Linked DNA regions of Homo sapiens: regions 2, 3, 4, 5, 6 and 7 are each linked to region 1. The links are contacts of gene promoters, found by promoter capture Hi-C in blood cells and fetal thymus (Javierre and others, 2016). All regions are on one chromosome and are shown on one strand. Each heading gives the region's core, a stretch centred on a gene start or on the middle of the fragment in contact. The rest is flanking DNA. Distances are from core to core; before and after follow the strand shown.

Region 1 (4,361 bases), core at 1,196-3,695:
CCACCCGCCTCGGCCTCCCAAAGTGCTGGGATTACATGCGTGAGCCACCGCACCTGGCCCGAATTAGCTTTTTAAAGCATCCTTGATCCCCGAAAATATTAGATGTCAAACCTCAACGCACCTTTACTCCTAAAATACCATTAGAAGAATCTATAGTGCTGTGGAACACATAATGCTAACACCAGCTATGAGAAATCAATATCTATCAGCATCCCCTTAACTTACATTGGAAGAAACACTAACCACCCAATTAGATTTAAGTAGTGAGGCTGACTCAGCACACAGGGGTGTCTAAAGAAATAAAGGGAAACAACATCCAGAAGTTCTCTTTGTGAACCAAAAATATGCCTTTTAGACCAAACTTCTTAGCAAGAATACAAGATCCATCACAATCTCACCCAAACCTGCTTCTAGCTGCATTTCACGCTGTTCTTTTTCCACCCCTGTCTTCCAATCTGGGTGACCCTCTGGATTTATAGATGTCCCTCTGCTCAATGTCATGCTCTTTCCTTTATGCCTTGATCCTAGGCACATATGATTTTCTTCATTCAAAAGACCTTGTCAACACTTAACCTTTAAAGATATCGTCTTTTCTGGAGAAAAGGTAGTTGCTTCACTCCAGAGAGGGGTTGGGGTCTAAAGAGCTGTGAGAGTACACATCTTCATGCTATTTTTCTCAGCCTCTTGCTCAGTGCCTGGCAACTGGTAGATGTTTGATAAATTTTTTTCAAGTAAATAAAGGAGTTGCTAATTCACTCGTATGAGTGCTTGCCTATTGATCTGAGGTCAATCACTCTTCTGAACTCATTGGGCTTTTCCAAAGTAAGCCTTTCCCCCTCAATCTAATAATGATAATAATAATAAGTGCTAATATTAATTGAGCACTTACTATGTGCCAAATACTATGCAATCTTAACATGAATCATTTCATCTAACTTCATAAGTTCTCCTCACCCTGCAGATGAGGAACCTGAAGCTTAAGACACTAAGTAACTTGCCATAATTATAAATGAGGGAGCCAGGATTGAAGCAGAGCCTGTGTACTGTATCATTAAGCTATATTGCTGGCAACTAATCAACACCACTGGGCTCATGGCTATTGGCTGGTTACTGGTGCTACTGATCTCTGCCGAGAAGCTCTTCCACCTCTAGCCATGCAGCATCAGTCTCCCTCCTGCTGGCAGAGAGGGGCGCTGAGCCTTTCATATTTACATAGAAAGCATGGCAGCAGCCTCAGTGTTGGAACCTGCCACTGGAAATGTCCATAACAACACAGTTGGGGGCTTTCTTTGTGGGCCCTGGCATGGTAAGTGCAAGTTTTGTTATTCCTTATGGGTTCTGAAAAATGAGACTTCACCTGTTAGTGACTGGCTTCACGTCATGTACCTGGAGGAGCTGGCTTCACATACGTCATAAAGATGCACTCTAATAATGTATTTAGAAGTTGTTGGCTAAAGGTCTAAGCCTGATTCTAATAGCACTTCCTCAATTAAGCTTTTTCTAGCACTCCTTCAACGATAACTTACTTCTTTTACCACCCACTCAATTCCTCAGTATTGTATCTATCACGCTTTTATAGTTCTTTATTTTCCACACAGGGCTATAAAGAGGATATTTGCTATAAAACATGGCAAACATTCAATTAAAAATGCAAATAGCTGCATCAAAATGCCGATTCATAAAATTTTTAGATCAGATGAGAAAAGACCCATTTTTCTGGAAAAGACTATTGATCATTGAGAGTTAAGAATACAGCTGGTTCCCAATTTAATTTCTCCCTGGTAAACAGAATAGGAATGGCTTGGCAAATCTACAGGAAAGAACATGTGTGCATTGTGCTTCTGGCTTTTCCAGATGTCAGTTGCTGAAGGTTTAAGGTGTGAGTCTGTGCATGTGTTTCTGAGGATCAGTCCCTGTTCAAAGAGGCAGTGGGAAGACTGAGTGGGATAACTCACACATGGACACCCTGTGCATCAGTGTGCGTTTAATTCAAAGACAGACCTCATTTGATAGCAATATTGACATGTCATTCTAATGAATTAGAAAAAATGAGAAAATGGGATGTAAATCCCCATCTGGATTCATGGGGATAGTATCAGAAAGATTTTCAGTGCCTTTGCAGAATGCTAGCAACATTTATTAAATACCTACCCTAGGTGCTATGTGCTTACATGAGAAGCCAAAGGTATCTGTTAAGCTAGGTAGGAACTGCAGTCGGCTGGTTGCTTCTCATCTGGAGAAAGCAGGCAACTGGGCAGTGATTGAAGTGTCCAGCAGGGGGCTGGCATTCTCTGTCTATAAGTAACACTGGTTCCTCTTCAGAGCCTCAGCTCAGCGGAGCTGCCGTTTGCTGGTGAAGCCCGTGACGTGCAAAGCATCCTGCCTATAGGATTTGAGGATTTCTCAGTGCAGTTTTTTTCTACCCACTTTAAACCTCCAGATTCTAAATATCAGGAAAGACGCTGTGGGAAAATAGCAGGCCAAAAGTTCTTAGTAAACTGCAGCCAGGGAGACTCAGACTAGAATGGAGGTAGAAAGAACTGATGCAGAGTGGGTTTAATTCTAAGCCTTTTTGTGGCTAAGTTTTGTTGTTGTTAACTTATTGAATTTAGAGTTGTATTGCACTGGTCATGTGAAAGCCAGAGCAGCACCAGTGTCAAAATAGTGACAGAGAGTTTTGAATACCATAGTTAGTATATATGTACTCAGAGTATTTTTATTAAAGAAGGCAAAGAGCCCGGCATAGATCTTATCTTCATCTTCACTCGGTTGCAAAATCAATAGTTAAGAAATAGCATCTAAGGGAACTTTTAGGTGGGAAAAAAAATCTAGAGATGGCTCTAAATGACTGTTTCCTTCTGAACTTGGAGGTGGACCATTTCATGCACTGCAACATCTCCAGTCACAGTGCGGATCTCCCCGTGAACGATGACTGGTCCCACCCGGGGATCCTCTATGTCATCCCTGCAGTTTATGGGGTTATCATTCTGATAGGCCTCATTGGCAACATCACTTTGATCAAGATCTTCTGTACAGTCAAGTCCATGCGAAACGTTCCAAACCTGTTCATTTCCAGTCTGGCTTTGGGAGACCTGCTCCTCCTAATAACGTGTGCTCCAGTGGATGCCAGCAGGTACCTGGCTGACAGATGGCTATTTGGCAGGATTGGCTGCAAACTGATCCCCTTTATACAGCTTACCTCTGTTGGGGTGTCTGTCTTCACACTCACGGCGCTCTCGGCAGACAGGTAAGTACAGGCTGAAAGTTACATGCTCTCCAAGGGTGATAGACGCCTGGGTAAATGAACTACCATGTCGGGACAGGGAGCTGATTGCACAAGGGAAGTTTTACTCAAACACGGATTCCCTTCCAGGCAGGTTTTTATTCTGGGTATGACTTCTTGAGTGTAACATATTGGTTTAAGAAAGAAAAGTGAATGATGGGGACAGAAGGAGACAGATGAGAAAAAAAAAATCTCTAAGCAGAAAACTGAGGTGCCTTTTTCTGGAGACATATCTATTTAGCATTGCCTTTTCCTAACTTCTCCCTCCTTGCAAAATTAATTGACCAGTGAGAAAGACAATCACACCCAATAGAGTTTAAACCTCAGGCAAATGTTTTTTAGGAGCAATTGAAACCCCTCAGAGAACAGGAAAGTTCCACTGGATTTCTTCAAAACGTTCTTTCAGAAATAACCAAGAGGAGAAAATAAGCCTCATTTCTCTGAAATTCATTTTCCTCAGACAGTTTAACTTTTCTCACAGCTGATTTTGAATTTGACTCTCTGTGATAGAACAATTGTATGCCGGTTTTCCTAAGTCTCTCTTAAATGAAATCAAACATTATTTGAGTTTTTAAAATTTTCTGGAGAAAGCTCTATTCAAGGTTGATTTCTAATTTTAATATCTTTATTGACAATACTTCATATACCATGCTTTTGGGGCTTATTGTGGGGAGGAAGAGGGAGTTCACTACAGTTTTTTATTCTGGGAAATATACATATTTGCAAACTGCATTTCTTGTGTGAGCACATTGCATAAAAGTTTACGTTTATTCAGTCTTAAAACTATATATTCATTCTTTGAACATTTATCAAGTGTCTAGCATGTAAGAAACACTTACCTGAATTAGCAAGTCAAGAAATAGCTGCAGGTTGTTCACATAAATTACTGAACATACTTTATGTACTTCTGTGTTCTGGAAATTGGACATAGTAATGAATAGACTTTCAGACACAGCATAGACCATATGGTCAAACCCAGAAAAACTGCTGCAATGAACCTAGACTATAAATTTTTCACTTATAATCAACTGTATGTTATGTGTTAAAGATACAGAAGGATTTGAGAGTGTTCTGGAAA
Region 2 (4,361 bases), core at 664-3,163, 450 kb before region 1:
GCCATGATTGTGCCACCACACTCCAGTCTGTGTGACAGAGCGAGACTCTGTCTCAAAAAATAAAAAAAACAAAAACCAAAAACAAAACACACACACACACACACACACACACACACACACACACACACAAACCCCTTTGGAAGTTTTAATATCTTAATTAAATGGCTCTACTCAATGATTTCCTAAATGTTGTAGAATTTTAATAAATGACATCCTTCCTTGTTTAAATTGTAATGAAATGGATATACTATATATAATAAACAATATCAAGATGTTTGTATTATTAATAATTTATACAATGTTTTCAGTATAATTAGGCAACAAAAATAATTTTATTCTCTTTAAATTGTCAGTGTTAAGATACATGGAGAGACAAAGTATTTTTGTCTATTGTGTGTAAGTTCTATTTTAACTCAGTGGTTTTCAATTGGGGGTGATTTTGTGCTCCAGAGACACTTGGCAACGTCTGGTGACATTTTTAGTCATCATGAATGGCAGATGAGAGGATTCTACTGGCATCTAGTGGGTAGAGGCCAGGGATGCTGCAAAACACCCCCACAAACTTTAAAAATGTCATTTAGGTAACTCTTTTCTTCTTGTAGTTGAGTTAATGGAAATAACCCACACAAGGAAGAACAGAAGAAAAAAGGGAGACAAGTGTGTGTGTGTGTGTGTGTGTGTGTGTGTGTGTGTGTGTGTGTGTGTGTGTGTGTGTGGTTTCTCTAAGGCTAAGAATGTAAAAATATATACATTGCAATGCATTTCATGGTACTTAATTTCCAGTCACAAGCTTATTAGAACTTCAGTTTATGATTCAAATTAGTCAACTCAGTTTTCTTAAACTATCATATTCATGGGCTACGAGAAATGCAAAAATGAACCAAATATAGTCTCTGCCCTTCAGGAACTTACAATTTTGTAGGACACAAAAGTAAATCACGATGGCAATAGATGCACATACAATTGTGAACAAAATGCTATAGGAACACTGGAGAAAAAGAGGATAAAAAGTTACTGGATTTGACAAGTCAATTATAAAACTGTTAACAAAAGAAAAATAGAAGAAAGGTTTCTCAATGATAATCAAGATAGACCTGGAACAATGGCAAGATGTTTAAAGATAAAACATGAAAGCCCACAGGATACAAGTTAAGGAAATCTGAAAACAAACACAAAGGACAGATACAGGATATGGCCAACAGCAGGGACTTGCTGGTAGAGTGGTTCAGAGGAAGATGGGGGAGAGAGCATCAGTGTAGATGCATCTGAAAAGCCAAGTTGGGTTCTGATCTTAGAGGTCAGAGAGTCTGGATTCTCCAACAATGGTCCTGAGAGGCTAATGAAGATTTCAATGTGGGAATGGGTTCATTGTAAATGACACAGAGAAGGACAATGGGAGATGGGAAGGACATTCCCTGACAGTGAGTTTCCAATGTGCCCTTTATTTACTAATCACAGGCTGTTGGACTGGCAGCCCACTACGTGCCCATGACTACAAAAAACAGGAAATTATTTTTCATTGGCCATCTTAATAAAAAGATAAATGAGCTTATTTTAATAATAATTTTAGAATATAGAACAGATGATGTTACAATCTTTTGGTATGCTTAATTTTATGCGCGCACACACACACACACACACACACACACACACACACACACAATTTCCAGTATCCTTGGTAAGCAAGAAACTCTATAATGTGGAATATTTTTGTCTCCATCACATATATCCCCTTTTTAAGATGAGAAATCATATTAAGCAAGGATATTTGAAAAGCTCATCAAATTTTGTAGGTTAATCAGTAGCCATAATCATTATGAACTTTGTCTTATTCTTCACAAGTTAACATTTTTCTACTTCAGAGAAAGTTAATCACTACCGTTTGGAAATAAAAATTAATTCAGATCAACTGAGTGAGTGTAATTCTGCCAACTTTATGCTCCTAAAGTAGCAATTTAAAGGACAGTTTCTTAAATGGGAAAAAAAAAGTATGTGTGTCTGTGTGTTTCATCTTGTGCATGGAGACCAATGCTTTATAATGGGTCTCATGTAGTTAAAGCAAGACATTTCTTTTACAGGTTTAGCTGGTTCCACTGTTGCTCAGGTGTAAGAGTTTTCTCATGATTTGGCAAGTCAATTTTCTCTTTTTACTAGGCTAACAGTATTGCAGCCATGGTCTATGAAATAGTATTTTCCATCCTTAATCATCAATTTGCCCACCAGTTGGAGGTCACCTAGTCACATTTAGCCCTGACAACAGGTACTTCTTTTGCCAACCTCTATAAAGGGTGTGGGGGCGGGGGCGGGATCAGACCACATAACTTTTAGGTTATATGCTCTCATTAATATTAAAGACATATGAATTAATCAATATCTCAGAATTTCTGATCCTACGTTTCGGCCAGTGATGACCCTGAACCCTCTACTGTCTGAAATTCATCAAAAGTCTTATGAGAAATGTTTTTGTGGACTGCCTAAAAGATGTGCACAAGAGATCCCTATTACTACAAATCAGAGATGACAGGTTGTTTGCAGCCATTTGCTCATCCCACACCCATGACAAACATTTTTTATCTATTTCAGAACTTTTTCCTTCTGTGCATGGACTCAGCCACCCCAACTGAGCTATTCAGTCCACTAATATGAATAAATGGGAGTTGACATGTGAGTTGAAACTTATGTGCCATTATGGGGAAAGATTATCTAAATGCTACCCTGAATTAAACCAGACCATTGTGGGGCTGTGTACTCAGTCGAACAGGAAATTTTGGATGGTTCATGAAATTGATTCAGTGCCCTGTGCTTTGTGATTATGCCAACAGTTTCCATTGAGGGAATGTGGGTGTAACAACTTATGACACTTATTTCCCACGTAGCTCACAGCGTCATCATGATGAGGAACTGGGATTTGCCTTGGGGCTAAAAATTATTTTTAAAAAAACAAACAGTGCTTCTCAAAAGCAAACAAAATCCTGATTGATTGGTTTTTATGAACACCGTAAAACTTTAAAATACTTGTTATCTCCTGTTTTCTATGGAAGCTTAGAGTGAGATCTCTTGCCCACCTTCAAAAACTGTTCTGGATCTGAAAGTGTGCATACTTGAGTGTTAATCTTACCATTGGCTACATTATTTATTCTCCCTCCATGAATTTCCCCTCTGGTTCCTTAAACTATAATACTTACTTTATACAGTGTTGCCTATATTTTGGTACGCGGCCTCAAATCATCTGGGAGAAAATAATGCTATAAAAATCAATGCAGTAATTTACACAGGCTGCACTTGATCCCATTTCCGGTGTGTTTAATTTTTCATGCAAAAAATGATTAGCATTGGCAACATTTTATATAAATGAGATAGAGTTCTCAGAGCCAGGGTGAGCTTAATAAAAAATGTTTTGTTGAAAATTGTCTTTTACTCTGTGCTCCTTGTAGCTCAATATTGTGAAAGTTCCCACTGTCTTCAAAGCAGAAATGGATGGAAGGTGGGAAGAGAAAGGAACTTTTACACTTTATATGTGATCATAAAATCTTGATTACTGGCATATGTAGAAGTGTATATAGTAAATCTCACTGCCATGGAGGGAAAAATTGTAATCCTCTATACAAGTGAAAAGGGAATACTTTAAATGAAGATTGAGAATTTATTGTGAAGGGAGCTGTACTAACTGCTATGTAAGTGGCTTCCTATGTTTGCTGCCCCAAAATACTCCTGCTAATTAGAACAACAAACCAGCACTTATCAAGTCCTTTTCCACCTATCAACTCCTTTATTACACCATCTTTAATTTTCTCAATTCTTGTGCCATCTAAACTTGAGTTGGGGAAGCTCAGTCTGTGATCTCTTTGACTCTTGTCTTATTTCTTACTGGAACATAGTACTTGATAAATCTGTCTTGAATGAATGAATGAATGAATGGCTAATGGAAAGTGTCCATCCTCTAAGAATGTCCGTTCAGAAATTTCTGGACAGAAAAGCTGGTAATAACCTCCTCACTTTTTTCCTGTGAACCCAGAATTGCGAATGGAGGGAGTAAAAAAGCGTAATCTTGGAGCAGGGGGCTGCAAACAGAGGTCTGAATGTGGTGGTGTCTAGACAGGACCTAGAGAGCATTAGGGCACCAAGTGCCTAGGAAAAGTCATCAGGAGGACACATCAGGAAGTAGAGGAGTGTGCTTACTCCATGTATCTCCCTAGCATTTAAAGTCCGCTGACTTTAAATGGGCTGGAAGGAACACGGTTCCAGTTTATCTCCATATCGGGTTAAAGGACATGAAACCTAGCTAGAAGGAACATTGCTCCACCACTGGCCCATCAGTTCTGTTTCCTACTCGGTTTTTGCTTAACGAGTTGTGGTGTTTA
Region 3 (4,361 bases), core at 755-3,254, 340 kb before region 1:
AAATCCAGAATATATGAGGAACTTCTACAACTCAACAACAAAAAACCAAATAACTCAATTTTTAAAAATGGGCAAAGGACTTGCACAGACATTTCTCCAAAGAAGTTATACAATTGGCCAATAAGAACATGAAAATATGCTCAACATTGCCAATTATTAGGGAAATGCAAATCAAAACCACAATGAGATATCGTCTCACGCCCATCATGATGGCCACTATCAGAAGAACAAAAAAATAACAAGTATTGGGGAGGATGCAGAGAAGTTGAAACCCTTGTGCACTGTTGGTGGTAATGTAAAACGGTGCAGTCATTACGGAAAACAGTACACAGGTTTCCCAAATAACTGAAAACAGAATTACCATAAGAATTACCACCAAAGCGGGATCTCAAAGAGATATTTGTACACCCATGTTCATAGCAGCATTATTCACAATAGCCAAGAGGTTCTGGAAGCATCCCAAATGTCCATCAACAGATGAATAGATAAAGGAAATGTGGTATATACAGTCAATGGAATATTATTCAGCCTTTAAAAAGAAGGAAATCCTGTCAAATGTACAATGTGGATGAACCTTGAAGGCATTATGCCAAGTGAAATAAGCCAGCCAACAAAAGAACAAATGCTATATGATTCCTCCATGTGAAGTATGCAAAGTAGTCAAAATCATACAATAGAAAGTAGAAAGGTGGTTGCCAAGCAACGGTTGGGGGAAGGGGAGAGGGTGAATTTGTATTTAGTGGGTACAGAGCTTGTGTTGCAAGAATTCTAGAGATCTGTTGCAAAACAAGTGTGATTGTACTTAACACTACTGAACTGTATACGTATAAGTTTGAGAAATATCTCTTTTAAAAAGGGGGAAATGTGAAGGCTTTTGCATGTATGCCCTAGGAAATGCATAGAATTCTTAGAAAGGTAAACATGGTAAAAAAAGAAGTCTTTGTTAACTTTCTGCAGTTCACCTGTTTCAAAGTATAGTTACCTTTAAAAGGGTAAACACACAAGATATGCATTTTCCAAAGCATACAGGCTTTCCTCCTAGCTGTCTTGTTTTTTATTTTTTTTTATTTTTTTTATTTTTTTGAGACAGAGTCGCGCTGTCACCCGGGCTGGAGTGCAGTGGCGCGATCTCGGCTCACTGCAAGCTCCGCCTCCCGGGTTCACGCCATTCTCCTGCCTCAGCCTCCTGAGTAGCTGGGACTACAGGCGCCCGCCACCACACCCGGCTATTTTTTGTATTTTAAGTAGAGACAGGGTTTCACCGTGTTAACCAGGATGGTCTCGATCTGACCTCGTGATCCACCCGTCTTGGCCTCCCAAAGTGCTGGGATTACAGGTGTGAGCCACTGTGCCTGGCCTTCCTAGCTGTCTTGTGAAACGATAAGTCAAAACCCTACTGCAGTGAGTTTTCCAAACTGAAGGGAGAAGCAATGTACAGAATGCCTGACTTGCCCTTACATCTTATACCTGGTGTTCTGGCATGATTATTAACCACACTCTTTTTCACTTTGAACCATGTCCTGGTTTGCATGGCCAGCTTCCCTGCAGAGGTGATAGAAACTGACTTGAGGCAGTTTCTTTCTCCATGCCTTAGTTAGATGACCCTCAAAGGGGCACAGCAGATTTCCCTGGCTACTGATACACCTTAACAAGAAGCTTGTGTTTTTTATGCCCTCAAAAGTGTTTTACTTATACTTTCCTAGACATAAAGGTGGAAAATGGGCCTAAGGTCTGTCAAAGGTCTTGGAAAAGAAGATTGTATTAAAATTGCTGTCCGTCTTCATTAAATAATACTAGATCGATACAATGCTTTCTTTACAGTATTAGTGGTTGGTGAAAGACTTCCTTCCTATTGTTACAGTATATGTATATATCTGTAAAATTAATGAGATATCCTTTAACTTGTAGATTAGAAAGCGACTAAAAACTCATAGGGGATTTACTAAAGAAGCAACAATGGGAAGAAGCAGCCGATCCTCCTCAGTGCACCTTTTTCTGTTGCACAGTACAGTGCACAGTGTGCTGGCATCACCATATAGGGCAAGCTGTGACCGCCTTTCTCCTTTCCCAGGGCTACATGGTGCCAAGCAGGTTCAGTGTACACTGGTTACCAACCTGTCTGATTCCATTGTGACAGAACACACTCACACCCAATACATTACATGAAGCAGATTTATTACTTACAGACAGGAAGCAAGGGACAAAAGAGGCCCTGGCTCCATTGTGAGCCAGTCCCCCAGGGCTCAAGAAAGCTGCCCAGGGCGGGGCTGATGGAGTCTTGATTGTACGTGCCCCACTTGCACCACAGCCTGCCTTGGGTTATATACCATAGGAGCCACATAACTCATTGGGCAAAGCTTTAAAGTACATCCTCCTTCCAGGGGAAAGAGGAACACAACCTCGCTGTCTCAAACAGTTCCCTAAATCAAGATGTTACATTCCCTAGGAGGGACAACAACAAGGCCAACCTGTTTCAGGCAGTTCCTCCATATCAGGATATTGCATTCCCAGTGCATTCTACAGTTATTCTTAAGAACTACAAGCAAGGAAGAAGGGAGAACTGGGTCAGTCCAAGGCCACCTGGAGAACTGTCTTGTACATGGGTTAGGGTAAAGTTGGCTATTCTAAAACTAAGCATCCGCCCAAAAGAAGTCTTGGAAGATGTCTTTCCCTGTTAAATTCAGATGATGGTAATTATAGTTTGGAAGTGGAATTGGCTTTTAGAGTTACTTCCTGTAATGAAATTAACAAGCAATTCAGGCCTATTTCTGAAAATGAATTCAGTGGTTAATTGTTAAAAATAAATGTCTAACTCCTATAAAAGGAAATTTACATTCATTTCTAACTCACTAAAAAATCTATGGCCGGGTGCGGTGGCTCATGCCTGTAATCCCAGCATTTTGGGAGGCCGAGGCGGGCAGATTACCGGAGGTCAAGAGTTCGAGAACAGCCTGGCCAATATGGTGAAACCCCGTCTCTACTAAAAAATACAAAAATTAGCCAGGTGGTTGTGGCATGCACCTGTAATCCCAGCTACGCAGGAGGCTGAGGCAGAAGAATCGCTTGAGCCCAGGAGGCGGAGGTTGCAGTGAGCCGAGATTTCTTAGAAGGAATTGTTACTTATTGTTCTGAAGTGAAAGTCTGGTCTGATTCAGAAGAAATGTTACAACAACTTAAACACTGATGCTTTCAGAACGGGCAGCAATTCTCAGCGTAAATTCTGATCACAGGGACCAGCAAAATTGGTGAGTTGCATAGCTACAACATTCTGTGCCATCCAGGGCACTCTAGTTTGGGGATACAACTGCCAAACCTCCAACTAGAGAGTTTAGTTTAAGATTTAGTCAAGAAGCAGAAAGGTAAAGGTGACAATGTGTAGTAAACCATGATAGATGTTATAAAAGGTGGAATACTTGTACTGGAAATGCATACAGCGCCTCATCCCCTCTTGAGGGGTCAGGAAGTTTTCACACTAATGATGATGGTGATGAGATGATGTAACAGCTAAAGTTTTGGAGGCATTCACTATTGCTAGGCACTGTATCAGCATATAACATGGCTTATCTTACTCAGTTTTCACAATAAAAGGGTTATGAGATGGGAACTATTATTACTATCTTGATTTTTACAAATGAGAAAACAGGAGTAGACATTAAGGAATTTACTCAAGATCACAGCCAACCAATGCACTGAGCTGGACAAGGTCAACTTGGGGGTGAAGGGCATATGTGTTGCTCCAAGTGTGTCAGTATAAGAGAGATTAGGGTGAGGTTTTATGCAGAGTTTGGGCTTCAGCTGAGTAATTCTAAGGAGGGATTAGGGGAAGGAAGGCAGTTTAGTAATTGAGTATCTCAGAAACTTTAATTTGGAGGAGAACGGAACAAAGGTAGGCCAAGGAAGCTATTCAATCACTCAAAAGATAGAGGTTATTAGTCATTTTACAGCTGTAATGCATCCTTGTGAGGAACATTTTTTGCTTGGCCTTGTCCCTGGCCTTGTATGTGTACATTACAGTCTGATTATTAGTTGGGATGATTTTTAGTTTCTCAATCCCTACTCTCATTGCCCCAGTTTAATTCCTCAACACCTCTCACCTAGATTATTGTGATACTCTAGTTTTATCTTTTAAATCCTTTATATTGCAAAGCAGAGTGATTTACCTAAAACACAAACACAACCACAATAAGCCTCTATTTAAAAAGCTTTCAACGGTTCACTGTTGTCTCTACAGAATGTAAACAGAGCGTCTTAACATGGCACACCAGGCCCTCCTTAACCTAGCCCTCCCAGCCCATCACAACAACTATATTCCTTGATATTCTCGAATTGCACTTTATTTTGTTTTGTTTTTTTGAGACGGA
Region 4 (4,361 bases), core at 994-3,493, 320 kb before region 1:
ACTGATGGACTTTCAGGTTATATTGGTTTTTCACTCATATGTAAAAAGTTGCAGTAAGCATCCATGCTTATATATCCTTGGTAATTGTCCAGTTATTTCCTTAAGAACATGACTAAAAATGAGATTGTTGGAATCAAATCATAAGTCCATGTAAAATGTAGATGGCCAGGTAGAAAGGGCTTCCTGGTTTGCAGTTTGCAGCCCTTCTGGCAGTGAATGTAGGGGCCCATCTCCCCATACCTTCACTCATACTAGGCATTATCAGTTTATAAAACTATAATGAAACTGTTTCAAATGCACATTTCTGAATTAGGTAGAGTATCTTTTTATATGTTTTATTACCTATTTGTAGATTGCTCAAGTCTCACACCTTTCTCTTTTGGGATACATGTTTTTTTAAAATTTGTTTTTGTTTTGTTTTGTTTGAGACGGACTCTCGTTCTGTCACCAGGCTGGAGTGCAGTGGTGTGATCTCCGCTCACCGCAACCTCCACCTCCCAGGTTCACACGATTCTCCTGCCTCAGCCTCCCGAGTAGCCGGGATTACAGGCACGCACCGCCACACCCAGTTAATTTTTTTTTGTACTTTTAGTAGAGATGGGGTTTCACCATGTTGGCCAGGATGGTCTCGATCTCTTGACCTCATGATCTGCCCGCCTCGGCCTCACAAAGTGCTGAGATTACAGGTGTGAGCCACCGCGCTCAGCCGAAATTTCTTAATGTCTCTAAGCTTCTATTTCCTTGTCTGTAATATGGAGATAAAGTCAATCACAGTATCCACCTCACAGAATTGTGAAGATTAAAGGAGGTGATGGATGTATAGTGTTTAACACAGTGTCAGCAGATGAGAGGTGCTGTGATAGCTCTAGTTCTTATTATTATAGATTTCTGTTATGATGAAGACAATAGATACGGTATGAAATAAGAGAGTAATTTTTTTCCTGTTTATTTGAAATGCTTCTTTTAAATCACATACATGTATCTTTGTGCTCCTTAGATCTTTATTTCTTTATGAGTTGCATACTATTATTGAAAAGCAAGAAAATTATGTAAAAATACTGTATGACTTTATGTCCTATTTCAAAGCAGATGTATATTCAAGTTATTAAATTTTAAAATTTTTAACATTTTACTTTCTTGTGGTCTTAATTTATATATCATTTGGTTCATTTATATACAATTATATGTTTTTCAAAAGATTTGTAAATCAGAGTTGTGCCCACTGAAACATCTATATGGTACCCTCACACATGGCATAGGAACACTGATAGATGCAATGTGCCAGCCTCTGCCATGGCTAAAAGATGTGTTCCTGGAATCTGTATTTGGAAATGTAATATATTTTATTTAAAATTGTGGTTAGGTCCCCAGACTAGACATAAAACTTTACTGAACTCCTAATACTGCTGAAGTAATATAGAACAGTTTCTCATATTTAATTTCCCTTTTATAAATTCAGTGGAAGAATGAATTTGAGGTTCTACACACCTAATTGGCAGGTAGACTTTGGCAATCTAACCCCCTCTTTATATTAGAAATTTGTGATATTGGATGTCTGAGACACTTGCCACTTTAAGGTAATACCACTCATTATAATTGGTCATATAAAAAATAGACTAGACACTCACTAATTTATTTTTATTTTTTCATTTTTTGAGACGAAGTCTCGCTCTGTCACCCAGGCTGGAGTGCAGTGGCATGATCTCGGCTCATTGCAAACTCCGCCTCCCAGATTCAAGCGATTCTCCTGCCTCAGCCTCCCAAGTAGCTGGGATTATAGGCGGCTGCCACCACGCCTGGCTAATTTTTGTATTTTTAGTAGAGATGGGGTTCACCATGTTGGCCAGCCTGGTCTCAAATTCCTGACCTCAGGTGATCCGCCCGCCTCAGCCTCCCAAAGTGCTGGATTACAGGTGCGAGCCATTGCGCCCGGCCCTCACTAATTTATTTTTATAACTCCATTTCTTAAAACCTGTAGCTTTATTTTAAAAACATGATTACAATGTACTTTTATTTTCCTTCTTTTGGCTGTTTAGGTGTTTGGAGGCAAACCACAGGAGTCTCTTAACTGTGTGTAGTAGTAGTCCAAAGGTTTATGGCAAAGGATACTGGGTTTTCAGCGTGCTGCCATCATGGAATTGCTACTTTTAAGAATAGGGGCTGGGTGCAGTGGCTCACACATGTAATCCCAGCACTTTGGGAGGCCGAGGCAGGTGGATCACTTGAGGTCAGGAGTTCGAGACCAGCCTGGCCAACATGATGAAACGCTGTCTGTACTAAAAATACAAAAATTAGCCTTGCGTGGTGGTGGGCACCTGTAATCCCAGCTACTCGGGAGGCTGAGGCAGGAGAATCACTTGAACCCGGGAGGCAGAGGTTGCAGTGAGCCAAGATCATGCCACTGCACTCCAGCCTGGGCAACAGAGTAATACTCTGTCTCAAAATAAATAAATAAATAAAAATAAATGCATAGAATAGGAAGGGAAATGCTTTCTGAATATGAAAAGGTAGATGCTGCTTTGAAACTTGCTACCCATTTTATTGTCACCTAAACATCACTGTGATCAGTCTAGAGGGAAAGTCATAGTGTCCTTTTTTCTGTAAAGTATGTCACAGCCATATATACCTATGAAATGTAAGAGAGATTTTAAGTTATTACCCATTAGGAAGATAGTTGCTGACACGTGGTGCTTTTCCAAAAGCTCTGCTCTTCTCGTTCTCTTACACCCACTTGACTGCTTTAATAGAAAATAGCTTTCGTGATATTTGAATCAGTCCCAAAATGTGTCATTTTGCTCTCGTGTGTGTGTGTATTTGTGGATTAATGCCCATTTCTTTTATCTGATTACATCATTATACTGATAGGCAAAGATTACATGAGGAGTGGTTGCTAAGAGAGCAGAAGGCACAAGAAGAATTCAGAATAAAGAAGGAAAAGGAAGAGGCGGCTAAAAAACGGCAAGAAGAACAAGAGGTATGGTAGGAATCACGTAACTAGTGAACAAACTGATTACTTCACCATAATAACTCTCATGAAGAGTTGCCTATCTTGGGAGGTTGGAGTGAGCTGAGATCACGCCATTGCACTCCAGCCTGGGCAGCAAGAGCGGAACTCCATCTCAAAAAGAAAAAAAAAAAAGAGTTGCCTATCTTGAACTTAAAAAAAAAAAACAAAAAACTGATCTTATTCAGTTTGCCAGTGTTTTAAGTTTTTCATCTATGTGCGCTGTATGTGAAATGTTTTTAAAAAGTGACTGAAACAAAGTTACTTTTTCTTCCCCTTTAAAGAGAAAGTTAAAGGAACAATGGGAAGAACAGCAGAGGAAAGAGAGAGAAGAGGAGGAGCAGAAACGACAGGAGAAGAAAGAAAAAGAGGTGATTCCTGTCATGGGATGTGCTGTGTGATGAGTTTGAAGAATAATCAGTAGGCATGTCAGAGTTTGGGTTTTTTTTTTCTCTTTTTCTTGTCATTTCATTGTTTGTTTGGAAAGAATCATATTTCAGTTTAGACATAACACCAGAGTTCCCTTCTGATGCTCTTCTTCGGGTCCGTGCAGTGGCAGATTCCTTAAAGTTTTCTTCAGCTTTACCCTATTTACCCTTTATACTGGGCATTGGCAAATGTTGTAAAGGGCCAGATGGTAAATATTTTAGGCTTTATGGTTTGGTCTCTGTGGCAAACATCCAACTCTGCCAGTGTACCCTGAAAGCAGCCATCGATAATATGTAGATGAATGGGTATGGCTGTGTTCCAGGAAAGCTTTATTTACAAAACAGGCAGCTAGCCCTTGCTTTATAGCAAGTTATGTTCTTCTGAGGTTCTGCTGTATATGAGTTGACTTCTTTAGAGAATAATACTTTGTTTTGTTTCCACATTTATTTAGGTCATAAGAGAACTGCTTATGACATGTCAGCAAGAATTAGAGGATTTAAAGAAATCAGGAACTCAAATATTGAGGAACTAGGAAACAGTTTTTGTTATTTGTATTAAATCTTGACTTCCTCTTCCACTTAGGCTATGAAGATAATTGTAGCTAACACACAGTTGCTTATTTAAAAAAAAAAAAAAATCTGTGAGGCATATGTGTGTATGTATCTTCTCTATCTTCCAGGATTCTTTTTTAAGGATTGATTTGGTATGTTTTGCTGCTATTCCTTGACAGTATATTTATTTCAGAGGTATCACAGCTCATCTTCCCTTGACTGATTCATCAGGATTTGTCTTTTTTGTAATACAGCTAAATTTAAATAGCATAAAATTGGATAATCACCTTATAATTGGGAAAAATGCATGTGTCTTCATTGTAGTCAATATGGGGCAGAAGCAGCCTCCACGATCTTTGTTTTTTGTATCTTAGGCC
Region 5 (4,361 bases), core at 941-3,440, 300 kb before region 1:
TTGTTTCTTTCTTTCCATCTTTATCCCTAATGAATCTTCTGTCATGACCACCTACGTTACCTTGCCCATAGCATTTCCTGCCTTACTTGGAATAATACATCCTTCTGTGCACTAGAGACTAATTGTAGGCTTGGGATCAGTTAAACATGAATGCAGTCAGACTGACATCGGACAGTGGCAACCCAATCAGGAAATGATCCAGTCTTGTGCAGAATAGCCAGCAGTTTTGAAGGCCTAGTTATGTTCTGATTTCTCTCAGTGGACTGTTCCCTAGGTGAAAAGAGATGAGCTCTAAATGCCTCTGGGGAGCACTTATCTTACCGTTTACTTGTGTTTCTTTGCTGTATACATGCCTGCCTAACGCAAAGTCAGAATCTTTGGCAAGCTTGTCTTCCTTGGATTCTGTCATTCTGAAACCATTTATGAAGGGAAAAGAAAGATTTTAGGATTCCTGGCTAAGGGAAACCAGAAGAACCATTACACTTTAAAGGCTCGGGGGATGGAAGAGGTGGAATTGTTCGCTCCATAAAGGCAGTTACTTTTGTCAGTTCCTGGGAATCCAGTGTGAGTTCAGTGAGGAGCTTCTGAGTGTGACCTTGACTCCTCCAAAGCAGGGGACTATTTCATTAAAAAAAAAAAAACACTTTATTTTCCTTATTGACTAAAGACACTGAGCATCTTTTCATTATTGGCCATTTGTATGTCTTCTTTGGAGAGATGTCTGTTTGGATCCTTTGCCTATTTTCTAACTAGGCTCTTTGTCTTTTTATTATTGAGTTGTAAGAGTTCTTGGTATATTCTCCATACAAGTACCTGGTCACAAATATGATTTGCAGATATTTTCTCCCATTTTGTAGGTTCTTTTCACTTCATGTTCTTTTGAAATACAAGTTGTAAATTTTGATGAAATCCAACTTAACTATTTTTTTGTTTGTTTTGGTGTCACATCTAGGATGACATTGCTTAGCCCAGGGTCACAAAGATTTACTTGTATGTTTTCTTCAAGGTCATAGTTTCATTTCTTAACATTTAGGTCTTGGATACAGTTTAATTTTTGTATATAGTATGTGGTACGGAGGTATTTCACTTCTAACTGTTGTGCATATCTGGGGAATTTACTGCTTTTAAAAAACGTTTGAGAACCCCAAAGATCTCAAAATTGTTCGAATAGATTTTATCTGTGATAAGAATCTTCTGTATTAAAAGCACTTAGTGAATTTGAAGCATTAGTGTAATGTTTATAATCTTAAAGTTTAAAGAAAATATAGACTCCTCTATGTTTAATAGGCCTTCTCTTTTTTTTTTGAGAGTGAGTCTCACTCTGTCGCCCAGGCTGGAGTGCAGTGGCATAATTTTGGCTCACTGCAACCTCCACCTCCTGGGTTTAAGTGATTCTCATGCCTCCGCCTCCTGAGTAGCTGGGATTACAAGCGCCTGCCACCACGCCCAGCTAATTTTTGTATTTTTAGTAGAGATGGGGTTTCGCCATGTTGGCCAGGCTGGTCTCAAACTCCTGACCTCAGGTCTGTGCCCGCCTCAGCCTCCCAAAGTGTTAGGATTACAGGTGTGAGCCACCGCACCTGGCCACGCCTTCTCTTTTGACCAGTGGTTCTGGCCTGTTTCCTCCATGCCATCAAACCGTGCTACCACAGGGACCCAAAGAGCTGGCTATTTGATGTTAATCAGGGATCAAAATCGTCAATCAGTGGGAAGGTGAAACCTGGAGAAGATAACGTGGTCACCATTTGCTCAGTTGCAGTCTGCACCATAATCCAACAGGGGCACAGGCTATTCTGCTTAATGAAAACTTCTGATTTGTTACCTTTCAGAGTGTCATTTATTAGAGCACGTTTGAAATCGTGGGAACCAAATTATGACATCAATTTATGTAAGCCCCTTTTACATAATACACAGTAGAAAATAGTTCTAGCATATCCAAATATCAGAAATGTACCTTCGGAAAAGGATAAAGTAGCATCTTCAGAATATGCAGTGATAAGTGCTGTTTCATCACTGTGCCATTGCAGGTTTATTTGAAATACAACAATGTCCAAGAGGAAAGCACTGCAACTTTCTTCATGTGTTCAGAAATCCCAACAATGAATTCTGGGAAGCTAATAGAGACATCTACTTGTCTCCAGATCGGACTGGCTCCTCCTTTGGGAAGAACTCCGAAAGGAGGGAGAGGATGGGCCACCACGACGACTACTACAGCAGGCTGCGGGGAAGGAGAAACCCTAGTCCAGACCACTCCTACAAAAGAAATGGGGAATCCGAGAGGAAAAGTAGTCGTCACAGGGGGAAGAAATCTCACAAACGCACATCAAAGAGTCGGGAGAGGCACAATTCACGAAGCAGAGGAAGAAATAGGGACCGCAGCAGGGACCGCAGCCGGGGCCGGGGCAGCCGGAGCCGGAGCCGGAGCCGGAGCCGCAGGAGCCGCCGCAGCCGGAGCCAAAGTTCCTCTAGGTCCCGAAGTCGTGGCAGGAGGAGGTCGGGTAATAGAGACAGAACTGTTCAGAGTCCCAAATCCAAATAAACTAGTTTTGTTCTTAAATGATTGTATATCTTATTTATTATGGTTGCTACATACTCGGATAGAAGGCTATGAACGCAGATGGGTTCGCAAGTCTGGCTGAACCCTGTGTAGCCTGGAATTCTATTTAAAAATATTTTTATTCTCTTATAATCATGAAGTATGGTTAGTATAGAAAACATAAAATACATAAATAACAACATGAAAATTACTTGTAATCCTAACCCTGAGAGAGAACTAAACATTGGAGCATTGTTTTAGTGTGTACACTTTTTTCTTTTTTTTTAGAGATAGGTTCTCACGAGCAGTGGCGTGATCATAGCTCACTGCAGCCTCAAACTCTTGGGCTCAGGTGATCTTCCCATCTCAGCCACCCAAGTAGCTGAGACTACAAGGTACACACCACCACACCTGGCTAATTTTTAAACATTGTTTTGTGGAGACAGCGTTTTGCCATGTTGCCCAAGCTGGTTTTGAACTCCTGGGCTCAAGTGATCCTCCCACCTTGTCTTCCCAAAGCGCTGGGATTATAGGTGTGATCCACCACACCCAGCCCTATGTACACATTTTTTAATACAAAGAACACATATGAATGCAGTTGAATATGCTTTTATTCACAAGAAGCAGTCATACTTCATCAAGCCCTATTCTTCGTTTTACTCACTGCACAATATGGATCAGTTTTTTCAACCATATCCTCATTGTTAGATTTTTAATTTTGTACTATTCAAGAATCCTGTGCTGAAATCAATCCTGTGATGGATTTTCTTAAATACTTCCACATATTTTTGATCATTTCCTTAGGATAAATTGTATCAAGGACATGAATACTAAAATATTTCCAAGTTGCCTGCCAGAAGACTATAAAAAATTTATTATGTCAATAAACTTTGCTGCTCCCACAACGCCAAGTAATTTTAATCCTTACCAATTTGATAAATTTTATGTGTTCATATATTTAATGTTTTTTTATTCTTGTTGGCCCCCTACCCCTTTTTTTAGAGACAGGGTCTTGCTATGTTGCCCAGACTGGAGGGCAGTGGCTGTTCACATGATCATTGTGCACTGTAGCCTCAAACTCCTGGGCTCAAGCGATCTTCTTGGCTCAGCCTCCTGAATATCTGAAACTACAGGTGAGCCCTGCTTGTTTGCCTTTTATTAATAATCTATTGGATTTTTCTATATGTAATAGCTGAACAGCTTTTTTGCTTTAAAGTTCATTTTCTCAGTTTTAAAGTACTGATGGGCAAAGTCCATTTTTTTTCCTCCTACTCTTCAGCTGGGGGCTGTCGTGTACTTTTTTAAATAGTGTGTTGGAAAGTTCTTTATATAGGAGTAAAGTTTATTTTTGTCATTTCCAGGAATATTAGGGTCATTGGTACTAAATATGCCTAGTGTTAAAGCAATCCTGGTATAAAAATCTCAACAGAATGGTCAGAGAATAGAACCTAATGCAGAAAAAGCTTCAGGCAAAATATTATACCTAGATTTCTGATCATAAATAAGATGCTCTCCAGCTTTATCAATTTTTTGTCGCTTTCTTTCCATTGACATATTTGGGATCTAGAATTTTGGAGTATGTGACATTTTTCAATTTGAGATTTGGGAATAAGGACTTAAAACATACGTAAAATACTGAAACGTTAACGAAATTTAAGTAGGAAGAAAGTTTCCTCAAAATTGGAATTTCTGCATGATATCTGTTAAGGATGAGAGTTCTTTCATGTGTAGTCAATAAAAGAAATCATGCATGTGGCCCAGGATAATTTCACTTTAAAAAGTTGGATTTGTTCCAGACTCTAAATGCCTGCTTCACCCTGAAAAT
Region 6 (4,361 bases), core at 1,373-3,872, 280 kb before region 1:
CAATTAGCTTGGACTACAGACACACACCACCATGCCCAGCTAGTCTTTTTTTTTTTCACTTTTTGTAAGGATGGGGTTTCACCACATTGCCCAGGCTGGTCTCGAACTTCTGGGCTCAAGCAATCCAACTGCCCCGGCCTCCCAAAGTGCTGGGATTACAAGCTTGGGCCACCGTGCTCAGCCCAAATATTCTTAATTATATCAAGAGCTGACCTTTAAAAAGTCCAAAACTTCATATTAAAAGATATGTTATTCAATACTTCAAAAAGTACTTATTAAAATAATTTTAAGTTACAAAAGCTTCATTTTTTAAAAGAAATCACTTTTCTCCTAAGATTCTTACCTTTCCATTTGTATGCAGTCCCACAGATTATTACTTTCACAAAAATATAGCATAGTACTAAGATATATCATGCAGCCCCCAGCACTAAAACAAATCAATTTTAGCAGCGCTAATCCTCCGTAGAGTACCACTTTCTAGATGAGGCAGATAAACAACTGCAAATCCAGTAAATCTATTCATAAAGTGGATCATCTCAAAGTAAAAGCAAATTCATGAGTATTATGCTTGCTTTTGGTACCTCACTTATTTTGCATTTCACAGATTACTTTAGTGAGAAAAAATACCAACAGCAAACAAAGCTCAAAAGAAAAACAACACCACAAATTTCAAAATGATGCTGTTAGTATAAAAAAGAAAGGTTGACACATCTCAAAGCACTAATCAACACCATCATGCATCAACCGCTAAGGGTTAAAGCCCAAATGCCCAGTATTTAACTATTTGATCTTCACGGATCAAGCAAGGACTTAGAAATCATCTCACGTGCAACAGTATTTGCATAGCACTCCATTTTATCCATGCCACAAAAATGGTAAATTTAGTAGTTACCAATAAATAAGTTGGGGATCAAAGGGACTAAAGCCTTAGACTGCTCTTTATCATAAGATATCCTCAGACAAACCTCCCCATTCTTCATTCTGGCTCTATAAAATTAAGGAGCAGAGAAAAACTGGTAAGTGCTTGACTTTACAGAAAAAAAGCCATACTATTATTTCCTTTGTCATTATATATGTGTGTGTTTAAATAAATCCAACTACATCACCACCCCCCACCATATCCCTCCAAAAATCTAGCTTAAAATAGGTGGTGGGGAAAAGTATTCCAAGTATTGCAAAGAATATCAATTTAGCAATTTCAGCATGTTGTACTTTAATAATTTAAGAATCATCTTTAGTACCAGTGGCATGTTAAGACAGCCAAACATTAAAAAATGGATAACGGGCCAATTTCTGGGCTTTACCCCCAAATCTAATTATGTATTCATACAACCAAACACCAAAAGGAATAAACATGAAGTTTGGTCTAGAAATGTCAAAACTAATCCTTTATTTACCAAGTAATGAAGTAAAATAAAAAAGATATCTTTATTATCTAATCACAATATCTGCTAATATTTTAGCAACTATTATTTGAATGTACATTTAATGTTACATTTTTATTACTAACTGTAATATGCTAACAGAAAATCTGTATCCACTGACCCTCTTCCCTATTTGGCTATAAAATGAAGGACTACCTTAAACTATGTGTTTATACAAATTGGGTAAGAGAAATTTTTTTTTAATTTTTCTGAAGAAAATAAGCATTCTTAAGGATAGAAATGTATATTTCACAAATTAAAAAAAAATCAAAATCATTGAGATGTGTATACACCTTTAAGCCAACAGATAAGTACATGATAAGTTCAAAGTCATCTTTGGTGCTTAGAAATAATCAATTCAAGTAAAAGACCTGACACTAAACAGAAAAATAATGACACATGAAAAAGTAGATTAAAATTGACCAATTAGGACTTCTACTACAAATGTAAGTCTGAATTTAGATCTTCACAGCTATATTTACAATTTTGGAAGCAAAATCATTTCATGAAATTGATTAAGTGAATGCTATACCCCAAACTATAAGACCAAAAAAGTTATTATAAATCCAGGCATTTTGATCAATCCAACAAGAAATAGGTTGAAAAATATTATTTATATCTACATATCCAATAAAAAATTCCAACTGCTGATAATCTGGACAATAAAAATTTGCAGTCTAAGAAGTCAAAGATGGCACTGTCTTAGGAAATCTACTCTTTTCCACACAGAAAAACCTCTGGGAGAATTATGAATTTCTCACTATATGACTGAGAAACAAAGAAGTTCATATCTAAAACAGAACGTTTAAAATATATATACCAAGACAATACATAACTGGGGTTAGGGGAAGTGCACAGTGGTTAAGATTTTACACAGCTGTGAAGCCTAGTAGATCTGGGTTTAGAATCCTGGTTTTGCCAGTTGCTAACCAGGTGGCCTCAGACCAGTCATGGAACCTCACTGAGATTCCACTTTCTCATTAGGCTACCTCTAACCTTTCACAGGGTGTCTTGAGGATTAGCACAGGATGCTTAAAGCAAACTGCTGAGCCCAGGGCCTCACATACAAGCACTCAAGCGTTAGTTACCATCATAATTATTTTTGTTGTCATGGTATCCAAAACAAAAAGTTTTCCAGCAGTTTGTGGAGTGCTTTTTCTCTTATTCCACTTGCTATTTTATGAACATAATATTCAAATACTCTCCCACAGATGTAAACTTGTATCATGCATCAAAAATATAAATGAATCTATTTTTAGGAAACATGCATCTTGCCATTCCTGCATTTCTTCTCAGAGTATGTTGATGAAGAGAACAGAATAACCTGAAGCCTTACTGCTCCACACAGACTTGAGCTTGGCTTCATAATGGCCTTAACCTACGATGTATTCTCACTCTAAATTCAGAATGGACCACCACCTACTGCTTCCCCAAGACCTACATGGCTAAGAAAAATGGTTCACTCAGACTGCTAAATAGACAATGTCTCAATGTGGTACTCAGTTTCGTTTGTGTACAAAGCAATGTAAAAGTAGTCATAGAAGAGAAACAGGACCACAGCTTTCTTCTAAAGACAAGGAACTGTAATTAACAGTACTCATTTCTTTATTTTAAACAAAGGTTACAAGGGGGTAAGGAAAATTTTACATGGGACCAACCATACTCATCCTATGCTTTTCTCTTTGCACTTACTTTCCCCAATTAAAGACATAAAAATAGGCTGGATGCGGTGGCTTACGCCTGTAATCCCAGCACTTTGGGAGGCCGAGGTGGGTGGATCACCTGTCAGGAGTTTGAGACCATCCTGGCCAACATGGTGAAAGCCTGTCTTTACTAAAAATACAAAAATTAGCTGGGCATGGTGGTGTGCACCTGTAGTCCCAGCTACTTGGGAGGCTGAGGCAGGAGGATTGCTTGAACACAGGAAGCGGAGGTTGCAGAGAGCCGAAATTGCACCACTGCACTCCAGCCTGGGTGATAAGCGAAACTCCATCTCAAAAAAAAAAAAAAAAAGACATAAAAATAGTACTTCAAACAGAAGGACAATATTAACTATTAAAATACTCCCATAGGGGAATATATATACATATGTACATATACACACACAAATAAATGTGGATCTGCAATAATGTTCTTATCCCCTAGTACATTAAATACTGAATATATGCTCTAAGGTAAACTTAACATTGCTGTCATATTCTAAGGCCCATAGCAATTTCCCAGTAGCATTTAAAAATCCAGGCACAGCTGGGTGCAGTGGCTTACACCTTTAATCCCAGCACTTTGGGAGGCCAAGGGGGACGGATCATTTGAGGTCAGGAGTTCGAGACCAGCCTGACCAACATGGTGAAACCCTGTCTCTACTAAAAGTACAAAACTAGCCAGGCATGGTAGTGCAAGCCTGTAATCCCAGCTACTCGGGAGGCTGAGGCAGGAGAATCGCTTGAGCCCGGGAGGCAGAGGTTGCAGTGAGCCAAGATCGTGTCATTGCACTCCAGCCTGGGCAACAAGAGCGAAACTCCATCTCAAACAAACAAACAAAAAATTACTCTCCAGGAAAAATATTAAAATTAAAAGTTGAACTTCAATAACTTTAAATACATTTTAAAGCCAATGTAATTAATCAGAAAATGATAGAAAAACTTGGAAGAAATGCCAGGTTCTGACAGAGCAGAATACAGATCTGTGACAAAATATGAAAGTGATCAAGGGAAGACCTATATGAAAAATTCCCAATTTCTAATCCTGGTTTTGACCTAATTTTTAAAAAAGTCTGATTAGTGAACAGCAAAATAAGGAGATACTAACTTTAAAAACCAATTTTACAACAGTAGAGTATATGCTTATAGTCAGCGCACCTGATATTAAAAACAAACCTCCAGAATAACATTTCCAATCAATTGGTAAACCACTGTGGCAAACTGTACACACAAGGCA
Region 7 (4,361 bases), core at 517-3,016, 260 kb before region 1:
GAACTCGTCCTTTTTTATGGCTGCATAGTATTCCATGGTGTATACGTGCCACATTTTCTTAATCCAGTCTATCACTGATGGACATTTGGGTTGGTTCCAAGTCTTTGCTATTGTGAATAGTGCCGCAATAAACATACGTGTGCATGTGTCTTTATAGCAGCATGATTTATAATCCTTTGGGTATATACCCAGTAATGGGATGGCTGGGTCAAATGGTATTTCTAGTTCTAGATCCTTGAGGAATTGCCACACTGTCTTCTACAATGGTTGAACTAGTTTACAGTCCCACCAACAGTGTAAAAGTGTTCCTATTTCTCCACATCCTCTCCAGCACCTGTTGTTTCCTGACTTTTTAATGATCGCCATTCTAACTGGTGTGAGATGGTATCTCATTGTGGTTTTGATTTGCATTTCTCTGATGGCCAGTGATGATGAGCATTTTTTCATGTGTCTGTTGGCTGCATAGATGTCTTCTTTTGAGAAGTGTCTGTTCATATCCTTTGCCCACTTTTTGATGGGGTTGTTTGTTTTTTTCTTGTAAATTTGTTTGAGTTCTTCCTAGATTCTGGATATTAGCCCTTTGTCAGATGAGTAAATTGCAAAAATTTTCTCCCATTCTGTAGGTTGCCTGTTCACTCTGATGGTAGTTTCTTTTGCTATGCAGAAGCTCTTTAGTTTAATTAGATCCCATTTGTCAATTTTGGCTTTTGTTGCCATTGCTTTTGGTGTTTTAGACATGAAGTCCTTGCCCATGCCTATGTCCTGAATGGTATTGCCTAGGTTTTCTTCTAAGGTTTTTATGGGTTTAGGTCTAACATTTAAGTCTTTAGTCCATCTTGAATTAATTTTTGTATAAGGTGTGAGGAAGGGATCCAGTTTCAGCTTTCTACATATGGCTAGCCAGTTTTCCCAGCTATAATATTCTAAGGCAGAAACTGAAGTGCTTAGGGAAACTCGAAGGTTGCATCATAAAAGTCAGATGCTTACTTGATGAAAATCACTACCTTAAAAATATTTCCCAACTACTCATGGCAAGTAGGAGTCACCTCTGAAATACTTTGTCAGCAATTAAAGACATGGGGTAGAAAGGAAGAAGTCCAGAGGGAACAGCTAGACAGAATCAATGTGTCCCAGGGGTAAGGCAGAGACCAGAGACCGCTAAGTAGTAATCAAAACCTGCCCGTTCTCTTCCTTAGCACACAGCTAGACCTCATTCCGCTGCTTCCTCTGTAGTTAGGTGTGCCCATGGAGCTGAGATCTGGCCAATGAAATAGGAATAAAAGTGACAGGTCTAGCCTATAAAAAGCTCCCACAGGAAAGTCTGTTTCCTTCTTCCCTCCTTCCCTCCCCAGACCTGCTTTTGCCACTTGGATGATGACACCCAGGTATCCTGCCAGCCTGAGTTCCTGAATGACTGCAAGGAAGAGACGTACACAAACCACTACCACCATCATCACTCCTATTGTACTTGAAATGAATGAGAAATAACTTTGTATTAAGCCACTGATTTTTTTTCCCAGGTTCATTTGTTACAGCTGCAAGCATTCCTGTTCATTCTTGAAAGCTTGTTGCATACTTAGTTACAAAGAGAAGGAGCCATGCATAGTGATGGGAAGAGCAAGTGAATTTTCAAGTGGATACTTGATTCTAATCCTGCTTTTTGTGCTCTTTTATATGTCTCCCTTCCATTGAAATTTGAGAAGAATTGTTAAACAGTCTGAGCACAGAATTTTAAACTACTTGTCTATCAAAGAGGGCAAAAAGAATGATTTAAGGCTCTTTTTTACATTCCTCTGACAAAGCCTAGCATTAATACTAGGCAATAGAAAAGGCAAAATTTAAAAAATCGTAAGGCTGAAAGGGCTGAGGAAGTGAAGTGGGGTGGTGGGCAAGCACATTTGGGTAAACTGTCCCTAATTGGCAAAAGTGAATACAGTATTATCATCAACCTCTTAGAATCAAAAAACCAAAGCTTGAGATTTATTTTTGACTCTATTATATCCTTGTCTTCTAAATACTATACAAAAAGCTAAGTTAAAATATTTATCCTAAAGCACTATTTAGAATACAGGAACATTTTAATTAGATAATTTGATGAAAAATTTTAGAAATACTGTACACATTTTAAATATAACACATATATAAGATAATAGAATTTTAAAGGTAATTTTATTCAAGAATTTTATTTTACAAGTGAAGAATGAAGTCCAGAGAAGTTAAGCAAATTGTTCAAGATCATACCAGTTAGTGGCAAGTGGAGAAGTAAGACTCCTATGTTCTGTCTCCAGGCAATGTTCTTGCCACCACAGGACACTGTCTATTGCCCAGAAACTACTAGCCCATTATCTTTAGGCAAAAACAAACAAATAAATAAATAAACTGAAAAACCTTACCCTTGAAATGTAAACTCTTCAATTCTACTTCCTTTTGCCTTTCTGTCCAGTATTAAAGTATTTATGTCTTTACTAGCTGACTGAAATCCTTGCAATCTCCAAAACTGGGATAATATCTTAATAACTGCTTTATGGCATAACCTAATGCAATGCTTTGCATAGAGTAAGTACTCTAAAATGTTAATTAAGTTGAATTGTGGTGCCAAAAGAAGGTTTAGGCTGAGGGCAATGGCTCACGCCTATAATCCCAGCACTTTGGGATGCCGAGGCAGGCGGATCACCTGAGGTCAGAAGTTCGAGACCAGCCTGGCCAACATGGTGAAACCCTGTCTCTACTATAAAAACACACACACAAAAAATTAGCTAGGCGTGATGCTGCATGCTTGTAATCTCAGCTACACAGGAGGCTGAGGCAGGGGAATCACTTGAACCCAGGAGTTGGAGGTTGCAGTGAGCCGAGACCGCACCACTGCACTCCAGCCTGTGCAACAAGAATGAAACTCCTTCCCCACCCCCCCCAAAAAAAAGGTTTAATTGGGCCCTGTCTCATTACTTCTTGAGTGTATCAGTTTTTCTGGAGTATTCTCCTTCTTTCCATCCCCATTAATATTGCACTAGGTCAGACTAACAAACTGGACTTTATATCTCAGCTCATTCTCTCCACCTGATTCCATTATGGTTCTTTCTGCACATGGCCACATGCTTTTCTAAAACATAAATCCAATAGAGATTAAACCTTCTGCTTAAAATGCTTCACCTTCTTTATTACTTCATTCAATTTGCACACCTGTGCCAGGTACTCACTGAGAACTGGGGGTAAAATAGAACACAACTTAGACATGGAACCTTTCACCAGGTTCTTAAGGTATAATGGGAACAAGATGGATGGCACAGTATATAATCAGCAATCCCAGTACAATGCAGTACAATGCTTCAAACTAGGAAGTTTCAAACGGTACAATGTTTCAAAGTAGGAAGGCCAGGGACCTGTGGGAACACACAGGACAGTGCCTAGCCCAGAGTTTTTGTGGTAGTGATGGGTGGTAGGGTCAGACAATGTTTCTTGGAGGACAAAGCCCTTAGGCCAAGATCGGAAAAGAATGGGGGAGACAGTCAAGAGAAGACAGGGCAAGAATGTTCCATATAGGGAGAATGACATTTGCCAAGACAAAGAGATGGGTTCATGTCTTAGGTACCTGAATGGAAGGTTAGTGTGGTCAGAGGGTTCCTGGGTAAAGATGAGTCTGCAGAGAATAGGAGGACCAGGTCATGCAGGATCTTTCAAACAAGATTAAAATATTTGGACTTTATATAAGGATATTGGAGGGCATTGAAAGATTTTAAGCAAGGGCAATGCCGTTATTGGATTTGAGTTCTAGAGTTTCAGAGAGCTCATTCTGGATGAAATGTGGTAAATCATAGGATATACTGTAGTCAGAGTTCAGTTGTAGGTAAAATAAACCGTACAAACAGAAGCAGTCTAAAAATGATTGGAATTGCTGGAGGAGCAAAATCTGGGCTGAGCTTCCAGGAAAACCTTCCAGAATAGCACTACAGAACTTGACTGCCAGAGAGCTGATGCCTCTGCTGTGATCAGTGAGCTGGAATATTAAGCCACTGTTTCCATGTAACTGCTGGCTCCAGGACTATCACTTCACTGCCACGATCTGGAAATCAGAAATCTGCTGCCAGCAAAGAGGATGCCTTTTTTCACTGCTGCTTTTCACTTGTGTAGCTAGGGACTGGACACTGGACTCCCTCTACAACTGTCACTGAAAGCCAAATGCTTTCATAACCCTGCTTGCCCCAGAAATAGCAGAAGCAGGCCGCCTGTTCATGATATATCACTTCCACCTTCCAAATCTTTCATGGGTGCACCTGATTGTTGGAATCTACATCGCAACCAGAAGCCTAGCTAAGAAATGTAGTTTTTAATTTTCCAAAAGGAACACAAGGAGGTTGGAATGG

What was found. Contacts are between HindIII fragments. The CHiCAGO score rates a contact against its expected background, and 5 or more counts as called.
Region 2: a contact is called between a fragment that was not itself captured here and the fragment with the promoter of GRPR in region 1, in 1 of 17 cell types (total B cells). The highest score is 7.1, in total B cells.
Region 3: a contact is called between a fragment that was not itself captured here and the fragment with the promoter of GRPR in region 1, in 3 of 17 cell types (M0 macrophages, monocytes and M1 macrophages). The highest score is 7.4, in M0 macrophages.
Region 4: a contact is called between a fragment that was not itself captured here and the fragment with the promoter of GRPR in region 1, in 3 of 17 cell types (M0 macrophages, naive B cells and M1 macrophages). The highest score is 6.2, in M0 macrophages.
Region 5: a contact is called between a fragment that was not itself captured here and the fragment with the promoter of GRPR in region 1, in 1 of 17 cell types (neutrophils). The highest score is 5.4, in neutrophils.
Region 6: a fragment that was not itself captured here is called in contact with the fragment with the promoter of GRPR in region 1 in 7 of 17 cell types (total B cells, monocytes, naive B cells and 4 more); the score reaches 9.7 in total B cells.
Region 7: a contact is called between a fragment that was not itself captured here and the fragment with the promoter of GRPR in region 1, in 4 of 17 cell types (total B cells, M0 macrophages, naive B cells and 1 more). The highest score is 6.5, in total B cells.

What each region holds. Positions count from the first base shown.
Region 1 is chrX:16,121,120-16,125,480 of GRCh38, forward strand. It overlaps GRPR (gastrin releasing peptide receptor), which reads left to right and starts at 2,446. Exons shown (of 3, transcript NM_005314.3): 1 at 2,446-3,247. The coding sequence starts at 2,835. RefSeq lists an enhancer at 2,147-2,441. The HindIII fragment of the contact is 8,500 bases long and covers 1,493-4,361 here.
Region 2 is chrX:15,670,223-15,674,583 of GRCh38, forward strand. It overlaps a transcript of CLTRN not described here. Among named protein-coding and RNA genes, the nearest start is that of CA5BP1-CA5B, 3.1 kb to the right of the region's middle. RefSeq lists an enhancer at 4,165-4,361. The HindIII fragment of the contact is 2,251 bases long and covers 789-3,039 here.
Region 3 is chrX:15,784,808-15,789,168 of GRCh38, forward strand. CA5B (carbonic anhydrase 5B) reads left to right here. Exons shown (of 8, transcript NM_007220.4): 8 at 1-3,604. It overlaps CA5BP1-CA5B (CA5BP1-CA5B readthrough), which reads left to right. Exons shown (of 12, transcript NR_160544.1): 12 at 1-3,604. It overlaps INE2 (inactivation escape 2), which reads right to left and starts at 2,782. Exons shown (of 1, transcript NR_002725.2): 1 at 909-2,782. The HindIII fragment of the contact is 701 bases long and covers 1,655-2,355 here.
Region 4 is chrX:15,800,823-15,805,183 of GRCh38, forward strand. ZRSR2 (zinc finger CCCH-type, RNA binding motif and serine/arginine rich 2) reads left to right here. Exons shown (of 11, transcript NM_005089.4): 4 at 2,866-2,974; 5 at 3,289-3,375. Among named protein-coding and RNA genes, the nearest start is that of ZRSR2, 13 kb to the left of the region's middle. The HindIII fragment of the contact is 3,030 bases long and covers 729-3,758 here.
Region 5 is chrX:15,820,704-15,825,064 of GRCh38, forward strand. It overlaps ZRSR2 (zinc finger CCCH-type, RNA binding motif and serine/arginine rich 2), which reads left to right. Exons shown (of 11, transcript NM_005089.4): 11 at 2,028-2,557. The coding sequence ends at 2,539. Among named protein-coding and RNA genes, the nearest start is that of AP1S2, 32 kb to the right of the region's middle. The HindIII fragment of the contact is 3,614 bases long and covers 384-3,997 here.
Region 6 is chrX:15,839,605-15,843,965 of GRCh38, forward strand. The region is part of intron 4 of AP1S2 (adaptor related protein complex 1 subunit sigma 2); the gene reads right to left. Among named protein-coding and RNA genes, the nearest start is that of AP1S2, 13 kb to the right of the region's middle. The HindIII fragment of the contact is 4,648 bases long and covers 299-4,361 here.
Region 7 is chrX:15,860,124-15,864,484 of GRCh38, forward strand. No RefSeq gene overlaps it. Among named protein-coding and RNA genes, the nearest start is that of AP1S2, 7.5 kb to the left of the region's middle. The HindIII fragment of the contact is 408 bases long and covers 1,563-1,970 here.